Linked DNA regions of Homo sapiens: region 2 is linked to region 1. Evidence: promoter capture Hi-C in 16 types of primary human blood cells and fetal thymus (Javierre and others, 2016). All regions are on one chromosome and are shown on one strand. Each heading gives the region's core, a stretch centred on a gene start or on the middle of the fragment in contact. The rest is flanking DNA. Distances are from core to core; before and after follow the strand shown.

Region 1 (5,785 bases), core at 2,217-4,716:
CAGAGCTGGAGCTCCCCACATAGCATTCTTTAGACAAAATCCAGGCAAACCTGGAAAACTTGGAAGTCAGCAAAGTAGGTAGTGAAAAGGAAGATATGAGGCAGATTCTAAAAATCCTTGCCAGAGAGTTGCACTCAAAATGAAATGGAAAGGGGAAGAGAAAAGCAGGTATCACAACCTTCATTCCTATCCTTGCCCTGATGCTTATCCCCCAATAACCCACGATCCAGCCAACCTGAACTGCTTCACAGACACGTCCTGCTGCCTTTGAGCTCAATGTCTTTGCTCTCACTGCTCTTTGCCCATAATGTTATCTCCTCATTACACATTCTCAGTTGCCTGCCTTCCAAATATCTGTCATCCATTACAGCCTCCATGATTAGTAAAAAAGTCTTACTTTGTCTGATGGACTCCAAGACCACTTTATTTCTCCTCTGGTACTTTTCATACAATAATTTATATTATATTATTTTATACATGTCTGTCTCCTCTACTAGATTGTAGATTCCCTGAGGGTGAGAATCATTCCTACTTAGCATTTCTTCTCTCAATAGAAACTTGCACAGAGTGCAATCAATATTGCCTAAGCGAATTTATGGGCAGTGTGGATTGTTAGTTTTTATGAGGAATATAGAACTCACTAAAGGAAACATACAGAAAAAAAAAAAAGTTATTCCTTGTCCAAACCCGCAAATAACTTTTTCATCCATCTCAGTTACTCTGACAGCAACCAAGCTGTAGACAACTAGTCAACATTGCCACCTAGTGGACATTATGGGTAATTATTTAAACCAGAACCCCTATACCTTGCCAGCAACAATTTTTTGTTGATTCTCAGAACTGTGCACAGACTGTGTTCTCCCATTTCTATATCCTTCCCAGACCACAGCTCAGTTAATTCCACTCCATAAATTATTCCATTTTCCTTAGCCTTTTTTACTTTTTCGTTCCAATTCTCTGAATATATCTCCAAAGTCCTTGAAAGTTTCTGAAAGTTCTCTAAACATCTCTACAGGCTCATGCCTGTCATCCTAGCACTTTGGGAGGCCGAGGCCGGAGGAGCATTTGATCTCAGAAGTTCGAGACCAGCTTGGGCAACATAGTGAAACCTTGTCTCTATCTTAAATATTTTTTTAAACATTATAAAAATAAAAATATTTACAAAAGCCTCCGTCTGTTTTTGCAATAGTAACATTTCATACTGTTTTTCTAAATTATTTCAAATGAAATATTATGTTTTTAGAAGAATTAGTGAGCTAGCCTGAGAACTTAAAATACAATTTATGGGAGGCCGGGCGCGGTGGCTCACGCCTGTAATCCCAGCACTTTGGGAGGCTGAGGCGGGTGGATCACGAGGTCAGGAGATCGAGGCCATCCTGGCCAACATGGTAAAACCCCGTCTCTACTAAAATACAAAAAATAATAATAATAATAATTAAAAAATAAAATAAAATACAATTTATGGCCTTGTTTCCAAGTGTTCAGAGTTCAAACAATAAACTTTTAAAACTTAATCCACTGGTAAATTGTTGGTTGGCTGCTTTAGAATTGAAACTGACCTTTTCAAATTGGAAAAGGGGACAGCAACAAAAAGGAACTCAGAAAATAATAATGGCTCATATTTTATAGCTGTTTGTGGTTTATAAAGTGGGTTTGTATTATTTCATTTGCCCTACCAACAGTCCTGTGAGGACTTACAGTATGAGGCTTCCCATAGCACAGATGAGCAAGAAAACCTCATTGACGAAAAGTTATTATACTATGTAGTATTTAGATTGGAGCAAAAGTAATAGCGTTTTTTGCCATTACTTTCAGTGGCAAAAACCACTATTACTTTTGCACCAAACTAACAGAACAAGAGCCATGCACAAGTTTTCATACACTGTTCACAACATCACATTTGGTCTGAGTGCTCACACACACACACACTAAATTACTGATGCAATATTTTAAGAAAATGTTAATTTTAATTTGCCCATAAAAGCAATAGAGAAAATATTCCCGGCCAGGCTAGGTGGCTGGCGCCTGTAATCCCAGCACTTTGGGAGGCCGAGGCAGGTGGATCACCTGAGGTCAGGAGTTCGAGACCAGCCTGGCCAACATGGCGAAACGTCGTCTCTACTAAAAATACAAAAATTTGCCCGGAGTGATGGTGGGCGCCTGTAATTCCAGCTACTCAGGAGGCTGAGGCAGGAGAATTGCTTGAACCCGGGAGGCAGAGGTTGCAGTGAGCCGAGATCGCGCCACTGCACTCCAGCCTCGGCGACAAAGGGAGACTTTTCAAGAAAAAAAAAAAAGAAGAAAAGAAAATATTCCCAGTCCAGGAAAGTACAGGAGGGTCTTTCCCAGGCCTTTTGTTGCCTCCATACCTCTGTGGTAGCTGTTCCCTGTTCCAGAATGTTCTAAGTAGGGAACAGTGGTCAGCTCAAAGCTGAAAACCATGGCCTGGCCCATGGTGGGAGGAGCAGTGTCTAGGAGAACAATTGGTCCTGGACTTTATGAAGGGTCTTAAAGTCAGACATTTGATATTGTGTATAAATGAGTGAGACCTATTTTCACAGGGATATACTAATAAGGTGAAGAAGTTGACATTCTTCATACAGCTTTAAACTTAGATCCCATTACTGTTCCACACTGGTCATAGCAATATTTTCTACAATCTTGCGAAAAGTACACTTATATTGCACTGTATTTTGTATGCTAAAAGTATTCATTTCCACATTTTTTATCACCCTGTTCTGCATGTTTTCACGTGTTACTCATTTTTCTATTCTTTTTCTGAATTCTCCCAGATCCTCGTTATGTTTTCACGTTTTAGTACACAAGGAACCTCAAAAGTTGAAAGTGTCCCAAGCCCTTGCCCACCTTTCAGCAAGCCTCTCTTTCTCCCTTTCCCAGGTGCTTTTCTTTCTGAAGATCTTTGTTATTATTTAACTCCTCTTTCGCAACACCACTGACATTGCACCGGCATCGCCGCGGGCCCACTGTCTGGCTTAGAAGGTGCTCAAGAAAGACCCGCGGCGAATGGAGAAGACAAGCCCAAAGCCAGGAAATGGGTGGCGGCTGCAGGGAAGGGGGTTTTGATTCCCTAGGATAAAAACGCGCTCCAACAGTCTCCGCATTCCGGCATGGAGCCGGCTGAGGGGTGCGGTGGTAAGACCCCATCGCTAGCGGAGTGCAAGCAAAGCCGCACACCTCCTGGGTCCGGGCTGGGGCAGGCCGCGCGGGCGCGGGAACGAACGCGTGCGGACGGGGAAAAGGGTCCTCCAAGCCCAAGTGGGAGCGCCGCGGAGGGCGAGCGAGCGGCAGGGCGCGGCGGGGCGTGTGCGGCACCACGGGACAGCGGGCTGCGGCCCAGGGGGCGAGGCGTGCTCGGGTCTATTCCGGGAGCGGCTCTGAGGGGCGGGCGCGGGCGCGGGCGGGGCGGGGGCTGCCGGCGAGCATCCTGTCTGGGGGAGGGGACCGCAGAGAGCGCCGGCCGCTGGGCTGGCCTGAGAGCGCAGCGCGCCGGCCGCTACCAGCCGCGCCGGAGCCCCTGCGCCCTGCGGCCCGCTCCCCGGGGACCGGGCCGGCGCCATGGACCGAGGCCAGGGTAAGAGGGGCCGCGACGCCCGCACTTGTTGCGGCGCCGGGCGGGAAAGGGAGACTGGACGATCTGAAGCCGGAGAGGAGGAGGGAGAGAGGCGGGCGGTGGGGCGGGGGCTGAGGAACGCTCGGAGGGGACTGGGAGACGCGGCGCTTATGCAAAGGTGCCTTCGGCTGCCGGGACAACCCGGTGCGTGTCAACGCCCGTGTCCTGGGGCCAACTCGCCTCTCGTGTGTGAAATCAGAGTTTTCATAGGCTAACGATTTGTAACTTCATAAAAGATCCCCCTCTAGTTTCCGGAGGACAGCGAGCTCCTCCCACCTCATTCCACTCTAAAGGGGAAAACAAGGTGTACAGGTTCAACTCCCGAAACACCCGCTGTGGGCAGCCCCTAGGGAGAAGCTCTAGGGGACCGAAGTTTGCAGCTGCCTAGGGCATTGCGAGAAGGAGGAGCGCCGTGAGCAGGCGCGCGTGTGCATGCATGTGTGCGCCAGGGAGGGAGGAGGCGGGGGTGGTTCTATCCCGCACCAGCTGTGTCCTCGGCCCAGCCCTTCTCTCTGGACCAGCGACAAAGTTGGACTAGATGGTCTCCAAGGCACCTTGCCGACCCTTTTCCAGTGTATTTGGTAGACGTTTCACAGAAGTGGAGGGGACTTACTGAAATTGAGATTGACATAAGCCGAGAGGGCAGCATTCGTAGGGGGCTAGCGCACATTTTTTTCTGTTTGTTTTGTTTTGTTTGAGACGGAGTTTCGCTCTTGTTGCCCAGGCTGGAGTGAAGTGGCGCGATCTTGGCTCACTGCAACCTCCGCCTCCCGGGTTCAAGCGATTCTCCTACCTCAGCCTCCCGAATAGCTGGGATTAGAGGCATGCGCCACCACACCCGGCTAATTTTTGTATTTTTAACAGAGACGGGGTTTCACCATATTGGCCAGGCTGGTCTGGAGCTCCTGACCTCAGGTGATCAGCCGGCCCCGGCCTCTCAAAGTGCTGGGATTACGGGCGTGAGCCACCGCGCCCGGCAGCGCACATTTTAAGTAAAGGTCTAGACATGGCCTTTGGCAATGGCCAGATGGGCATGTGTGTGTCTGTAAAGAAGTGGCCTGCTTGGACATGTGAACAGTGTCAGAGGCTGGGAATCAGAACCCCAGGGTTTCAGTCTGCACCTCTGGGATCCAAAGAGATCACAGGTGTGACGGCACTAGATAAACTAGTGAGTGCTGTGCCAACAGGCGAAGTGTTGTTGTTGTTGCTGTTATTAATAATGGAAAATTCATTCCCCTCCCCACGATAATCTCACACCTCTCCCCCATCTGCCTGTTTGCTGTGCTGAGCCCCCGAAGGGAGGAAAAAAAGAAGGGAACAGGGGCATGGGAGCAATTAGCAGGCACTGGGGCAGGGATGAGCCGGGAGCAGGTGTGGGGTAACCTCCCTTACTCCTGTTAAACGGAAAGTCAGGCTTGGCGAGCTCAGAGGGCCAGAGGGGACTCCTGGCTTCCAGTTCAACCTCCTCACTTGCCCCTCCCCAACAGAGAATACTGCATTCACCTTCTCCTTCAGGGACTGGGAAGGGCAGGCAGGAAAGAGAGTGGGCTTCTGTTTGGTTCTTTAGCAACTGAGGCCTAGATTTGTAAAGCAGTTCTCACCTGTTAACTGATTTCTAGGCAAGTGTGAAGAGTGTACATCAGGGAGGAAAAACAGAGAGAAGAGGCACCTCTCACACCCCTCAGTCCTGCTGTTCCCACCTCCTGCATAATGCGTCTAAAGCAAATACCACCATCCCCCCTCCCCTTCACACTCCTAGTCGCCCGCCACCTCCCCAACCTCTCCACCACCCCCACTCCCCACCAGTTTTTAAATACCAACCTGTCTGATCTCCAGTACAAAAATCCATACCTAGGCCTACCCAGGCCTGTGGAAAGTGCACTGTGTCATCCTAAGACAGAGTGACAATAGTTCACTTCACTTTAAATGCTTGGTAACCAACAACCTCCACGTCAGAAGGCTGCCTCCAGAGCACTCTTCCTAGGAAGTCAGACTTCCCAGGAATCCCTTGGTGCTGAGAGCCTAGGAGGGCTCTGACCTGCTCTCTCCCTGCAGGCTTTTCTAGCCTGCTATCTTTCTTTACACCTCTTGTCACAACTTTATAGACATAGTTATCTGACTCTTTAGTGTCGGCCTCCCTACCCAGAAGTAAGC
Region 2 (5,785 bases), core at 2,124-4,623, 520 kb before region 1:
TATGTGTTGGAAGATAAGACATGTTCATAAATAACTACAATACAGAACATGGTGATAAGTGTTGTGTGAGCAAGATAAAGTGCTAAAAGAATTAAGAGGAGGGAGAGATTACTGAACAGTGGGTTCCTAAGGAGAGAGAAGGGGTGTCTCAGAAAGCTATTTCTGACTGCATGTTGAGGAACCCAATAAACTCAAGGAGGGAGGAAAAAAAGAGATATCCAATGATCTCAGTAAGCCGGCCAGGAAATAATTGATGCAGCCGGGACTGGGCATCAGCATATCACAGGGAGCATTTCCAAGATGCACATCTAGCTCTTACCCCTGACATCCTACATAGAAATTCCTTGGGTTGAAGATCATGCACCCAAGTTTTAAAATGTCTTTTTAGTTAATTCTTTTTCAGGCCCTTCATTAACTTCTGCTCTAAGGAGCTGTCCCCTAAAACACTGTCTAAAACAACAGGTATGTCTCTTTTGTCCTTTCTGTATCCCCAAATTCAAATAAACTAGGATGCACAGGTTGTCAAGTTTTTATTTTGTGAGTGTATCATCTGTGCCTGTACCTGGGATTCCATCCTGAGCCAGGCAAGAGCCTTAGTAAGGCACTGCCTTAGCCTGGAGGAGAACACACCTTCTTGTACTTATCCATTTGGAGCAGGTGCCATTTTGTTATTCCCAAAAAGGCACTCTATGCTACAGTGGCCTGCAGATTACCAAGGAATTGATAGATTTCCAAGCCATCTTTCTCCAAAGATTACCTTAAAAAAATATAATCCTTATGTTGACACGAGTTGTATATAAAAAGTTGGCACAAGTATATATTGAATTTGCTTAGAACTAAGGATGGGATTGATATCCAATACAGTTATAAAAATCCAGAAGTTCACGTATGCTTTTCCAATTTATAACTCAAAATTCTCATCAGAACCTTTCCATACGTGCCTTAGTTTTCAGCTTCTTTCAGGAATACCCAGGCTCAGTTTTCCATCAAAGACACCCAGAAAGCAGGCCCCATTGTTTCACTATTATTGTTGCCAAATCTGCCACCTCTCTCATCACTGGCCATCCCCCCTGAAGGGTTGCTTACCTAAACACCAATCTAACCTAACAAATCTTACTTCAAATTGTGCACTGTCCTAAAGAAGACATGCGAGGAATGCAGTGTTCTCTGGTTGTTGAAACATATGCATTTCAAAATCAAGGAAGCCTTCAGTATGCAGAAGTTGTTAGCTTTCTTGGCCCCTTCCTCTTTTGAGCTACAACCATTCTCTTCCATTCTACATTCCGGTAAAAATGCAAGTTGTCCATGCCTTCTAAGCTTGTGAAGTAAAAGAAGATGTGGATAATGGGAAAGCCTTAGTATCACGAAAATGAATGACTCCATAAAGTTCCAGTGGAGGTAATTAAAATGAGAAATGTTTGCATTTTGTGAACTACATGTGCTGCCCAAAATAAAATTAGGGGTACACTCTTGAATCCTGCAAGAGGAACTGATCCCAGGAAACTTCTTACAGTCAGTAGGGTGGAAACTGCCCATTCAGCTTGGTTATGGGCTTGTGCACTCGAAAAGGGGAGATAGTGAGCCCTTTAAGCAATAATACCTTATGTTGTGTGCATTTTGTAGTTCAGAAACATTTTTACATCCACTTCATCATTTGATTCTCACAGCAGTCTTAAGAGAGAGGCAGAGAAGGATTATTATTATAACCAATCTACAAAGAAACTGGGACCTACAGGGATGTGTAGTGGATATGTGATGCTGTTGCTGCCAAATGCCCCTTTACCCAGCTGCCAAATGCCCCTTTACCCTTCTCCAAGTTCACGTCTGGGGAACATCTGCTCTTGTTTTGAGTCCATGTGCTTATAGAAGATGTAACAACATAATTGATTACTCTAAGGATGGGGCATGTGAATCAGAGCCTTAAACTCTTTAGGTCTCACAAATTTCTTTAGGGATGGGCCCATAGACTTGGTTAGAGCTAACGAGATGCAAGACTTTTATTTATTGGTAGAGTGATGTGCCCACTTTCCTTCTTACCCTCACGTGATGTCTTGGAATAAAGTAAACATATAGGATAATAGAACTAGTAGAAAGAGAAAGGCTTGGTTCAGATGAAATCATTGATTTTCCCATCTTGGAGCAATTACATTTCCTTTTTTATTTTTATTTATTTATATATTTTTCGAGACGGAGTTTCACTCTTGTTGCCCAGGCTGGAGTACAATGGCATGAACTTGGCTCACTGCAACCTCTGCCTCCCCAGTTCAAGCAATTTGCCTGCCTCAGCCTCCCGAGTAGCTGGGATTACAGGCATGCACCACCATATCTGGCTAATTTTGTATTATTAGTAGAGATGGAGTTTCACCATGTTGGCCAGGCTGGTCTTGAACTCCCAACCTCAGGTGATCCACTCACCTCAGCCTCCCAAAGTGCTGAGATTACAGGCGTGAGCCACGGCACTGGGCCTACATTTCCTTTTTTTTTTTTTTTTTTTTTTTTGAGATGGAGTCTTCCTCTGTCGCCCAGGCTGGAGTGCAGTGGTGCAATCTTGGCTCACTGCAAGCTCCGCCTCCCGGGTTCACACCATTCTCCTGCCTCAGCCTCCCGAGTAGCTGGGACTACAGACGCCCACCACCATGCCTGGCTAATTTTTTGTATTTTCAGTAGAGAAGGGGTTTCACCGTGTTAGCCAGGATGGTCTCGATCTCCTGACCTCATGATCCGCCCACCTCGGCCTCCCAAACTGCTGTGATTACAGGCATGAGCCACCGCGCCCAGCCTTTTTTTTTTTTTTTTTTCTGACATTAACTTGAGCTGGGTTTATAGGCGTCTAAAACCGAAGAGTGATTCAAAATGGTTACGGTGTCCATGGCCCCATAACTTCACTTTACTTATGAGTGACATAGCTCTCTAGCTGTTATTTGGCATCACCTTTCTGCATTCGTGTGTGTTGTCGATTGGTAACTTTCCTCCATATTTTGGGGAGAAAAGTGAGAGGGTGGAAATGTTTCCAACTTCTTTTTTTGCCTCTAAAAATTTCTGGCCACTAGCCAGCCAGTGGATTCCACGCTCATGGTTCAAGTGCACACCCCCTTCCTGCCCCAACCCACAGTGGCCAGAATGCGAGGCCAGAGTGCAGAGATGGGGAAAGGCCAATGGGTGATAAGGCACAGGATATAGCCACTTGAGCAGCAGAAGCTTAGAAACGTCAGCTCCCTTAGAAAGAGGCTGTAGGCACAGTAAATCTTTCTATAGCACTAGTGCTTCTCAGTGCAGCCTCAGATATCCACAAATTCTTAGGCATCCTATGATAATGCTACAATTTTGCATTTGAATTTATCATTCAAATGTTTCTCATGCTTGGGTTACCTGCATGACTACCTTATGAGATTTCAGTGTTTGTATTTGTTGTATTTGCAAACAAATTGTATCCAAGTAATAGTACTCAGTTGTCATGAGTTAATGAAGAAAAAGGAGGCAATCTTAATGAAAAAGTGATACACTTGCATCATGTGAAAGTCAGATGACATCATGGATCTTCGTGGGACTAAAGCTTTGCAACAATGCCCACAGAGAAAGTGTGATGAAAGAACTGAGGCTCAAGAGTGAATAGACAAGTCAAACTCCAAAGAACCTCGCTAGACTAGATGTGAGCAGAGAATTCCTTTTAGCCATGTGAGATTATCCATCACAATTAATTTGGCCACTTAAATTTTAGTTGTTTTATAATTTTATTCATAGTACATTTAACTAAAAAGTTATTTTGCTACTTTGGTTATATACAACTATAAAATGAATGATTTATTCCTACTTTTATGTTTGTGTATGTGTAAATAACATTATAATAAAAGGGACATATCAATGATGGGGACTATGAGAAATTTCTTTTTTCTTAAAGGGGCTGGTCAGTGTCTCAGACTTGAAAACCACAGTGGTATAGTGTCTCTCCCAGGACTACCTGCTTTCTTCTGGCTTTCTTCTTGTGGTTTGAACCTTATAATACTCTTCCTCTTTTAAGCCACTTTATTAAGGTAGGATTGACATGCAAAAAGCTACACATATTTAATATGTACAACTTGACGAGTTTGGAGATAAATATAAAGCAAAATTTTTCCCCTCTCCTCTTATATATTATTTGTATGTATGTGTGTGTGTATGTGATAAGCTCACTTCATATAACATCTACCCATTCAGCAAATTTTTAAGTATACTATACAGTATTGTTAACTATAAGCACTATGTCGTGCAGTAAACCTTTAGAACTTATTCATTATGTATCACCAAACCTTTGAAACTTTCAACTAACACCTTCTAATATGTCCTCTCCTCAGTCCCTGGCAACCACCATTCATTGTCTGCTTCTAAGAGTTTGACTATTTTATATTTGTTGTATAAATAGTGTCATGTTGTGTTTGTCATTCTGTGTCTGGCTTATAATACTTAGCATAATATCCTCCAAGTACATCCATATGTTTGCAAATGGCAGGATTTCCTTTCCATTTTAAGGCTGAATAATATCCCATTGTATACATACATCACATTTTCTTTTTTTTACATACATTTTTTATTATACTTTAAGTTCTGGGGTTCATGTGCAGAACGTGCAGGTTTGTTACATAAGTATACATGTGCCATGGTGGTTTGCTGCACCCATCAACCCGTCATCTACATTAGGTATTTCTCCTAATGCTATCCCTCTCCTAGCCCCCCACCCCCCAACAGGCCCCAGTGTGTGATGTTCCCCTCTCTGTGTCCATGTATTCTCACTGATCAGCTCCTGCTTATGAGTGAGAACATGTGGTATTTGGTTTTCTGCTCCTGTGTTAATTTAATGAGAATGATGGCTTCCAGCATCATCCATGTCCCTGCAAAGGACATGAACTCCTCCTTTTTTATGGCTGCATAGTATTCCATGGTGTATATGTGCCACATTTTCTTTATCCAGTCTATCATTAAGGGGCATTTGGGTTGGTTCCAAGTCTTTGCTATTGTGAACAGTGCCACAATAAACATATGTGTGCATGTGTCTTTATAGTAGAATGATTTATAATCCTATGGGTATACACCCAGTAATGGGATTGCTGGGTAAAATGGTATTTCTGGTTCTAGATCCTTGAGGAATCACCACACTGTCTTCCACAATGGTTGAACTAATTTACACTCCCACCAACAGTGTAAAAGCATTCCTATTTCTCCACATCCTCTCCAGCATCTGTTGTTTCCTGACTTTTTAATGATGGCCATTCTAACTGGCATGAGATGGTATCTCACTGTGGTTTTGATTTGCATTTCTCTAATGACCAAGTGATGATGAGCTTTTTTTCATATGTTTGTTGGCTGTATAAATGTCTTTTTTTGAGAAGTGTCTGTTCACATCCTTCACCCACTTTTTGATGGGATTGTTTGTGTGTGTGTGTATGTGTGTGTGTGTGTGTGTGTGTGTGTAAATTTGTTTAAGTTCTTTGTAGATTCTGGATATTAGCCCTTTGTCAGATGGGTAGATTGCAAAAATGTTCTCCCATTCTGTAGGTTGCCTGTTCGCTCTGATAATAGTTTATTTTGCTGTGCAGAAGCTCTTTAGTTTAACCGGATCCCATTTGTCAATCTTGGCTTTTGTTGCCATTGCTTTTGGTTTTTTAGTCATGAAGTCTTTGCCCATTCCTATGTCCTGAATGCTATTGCCTAGATTTTCTTCTAGGGTTTTTATGATTTTAGGTCTTATGTTTAAGTATTTAATCCATCTTGAGTTAATTTTTGTATAAGGTGTAAGGAAGGGATCCAGTTT

Evidence for each region. Contacts are between HindIII fragments. The CHiCAGO score rates a contact against its expected background, and 5 or more counts as called.
Region 2: a contact is called between a fragment that was not itself captured here and the fragment with the promoter of AFAP1L1 in region 1, in 2 of 17 cell types (M1 macrophages and M0 macrophages). The highest score is 5.4, in M1 macrophages.

Annotation. Positions count from the first base shown.
Region 1 is chr5:149,268,393-149,274,177 of GRCh38, forward strand. It overlaps AFAP1L1 (actin filament associated protein 1 like 1), which reads left to right and starts at 3,467. Exons shown (of 19, transcript NM_152406.4): 1 at 3,467-3,592. The coding sequence starts at 3,577. RefSeq lists enhancers at 3,446-3,985, 3,986-4,527, 4,528-5,067. The HindIII fragment of the contact is 5,831 bases long and covers 1-5,782 here.
Region 2 is chr5:148,747,683-148,753,467 of GRCh38, forward strand. No RefSeq gene overlaps it. Among named protein-coding and RNA genes, the nearest start is that of ADRB2, 76 kb to the right of the region's middle. The HindIII fragment of the contact is 355 bases long and covers 3,197-3,551 here.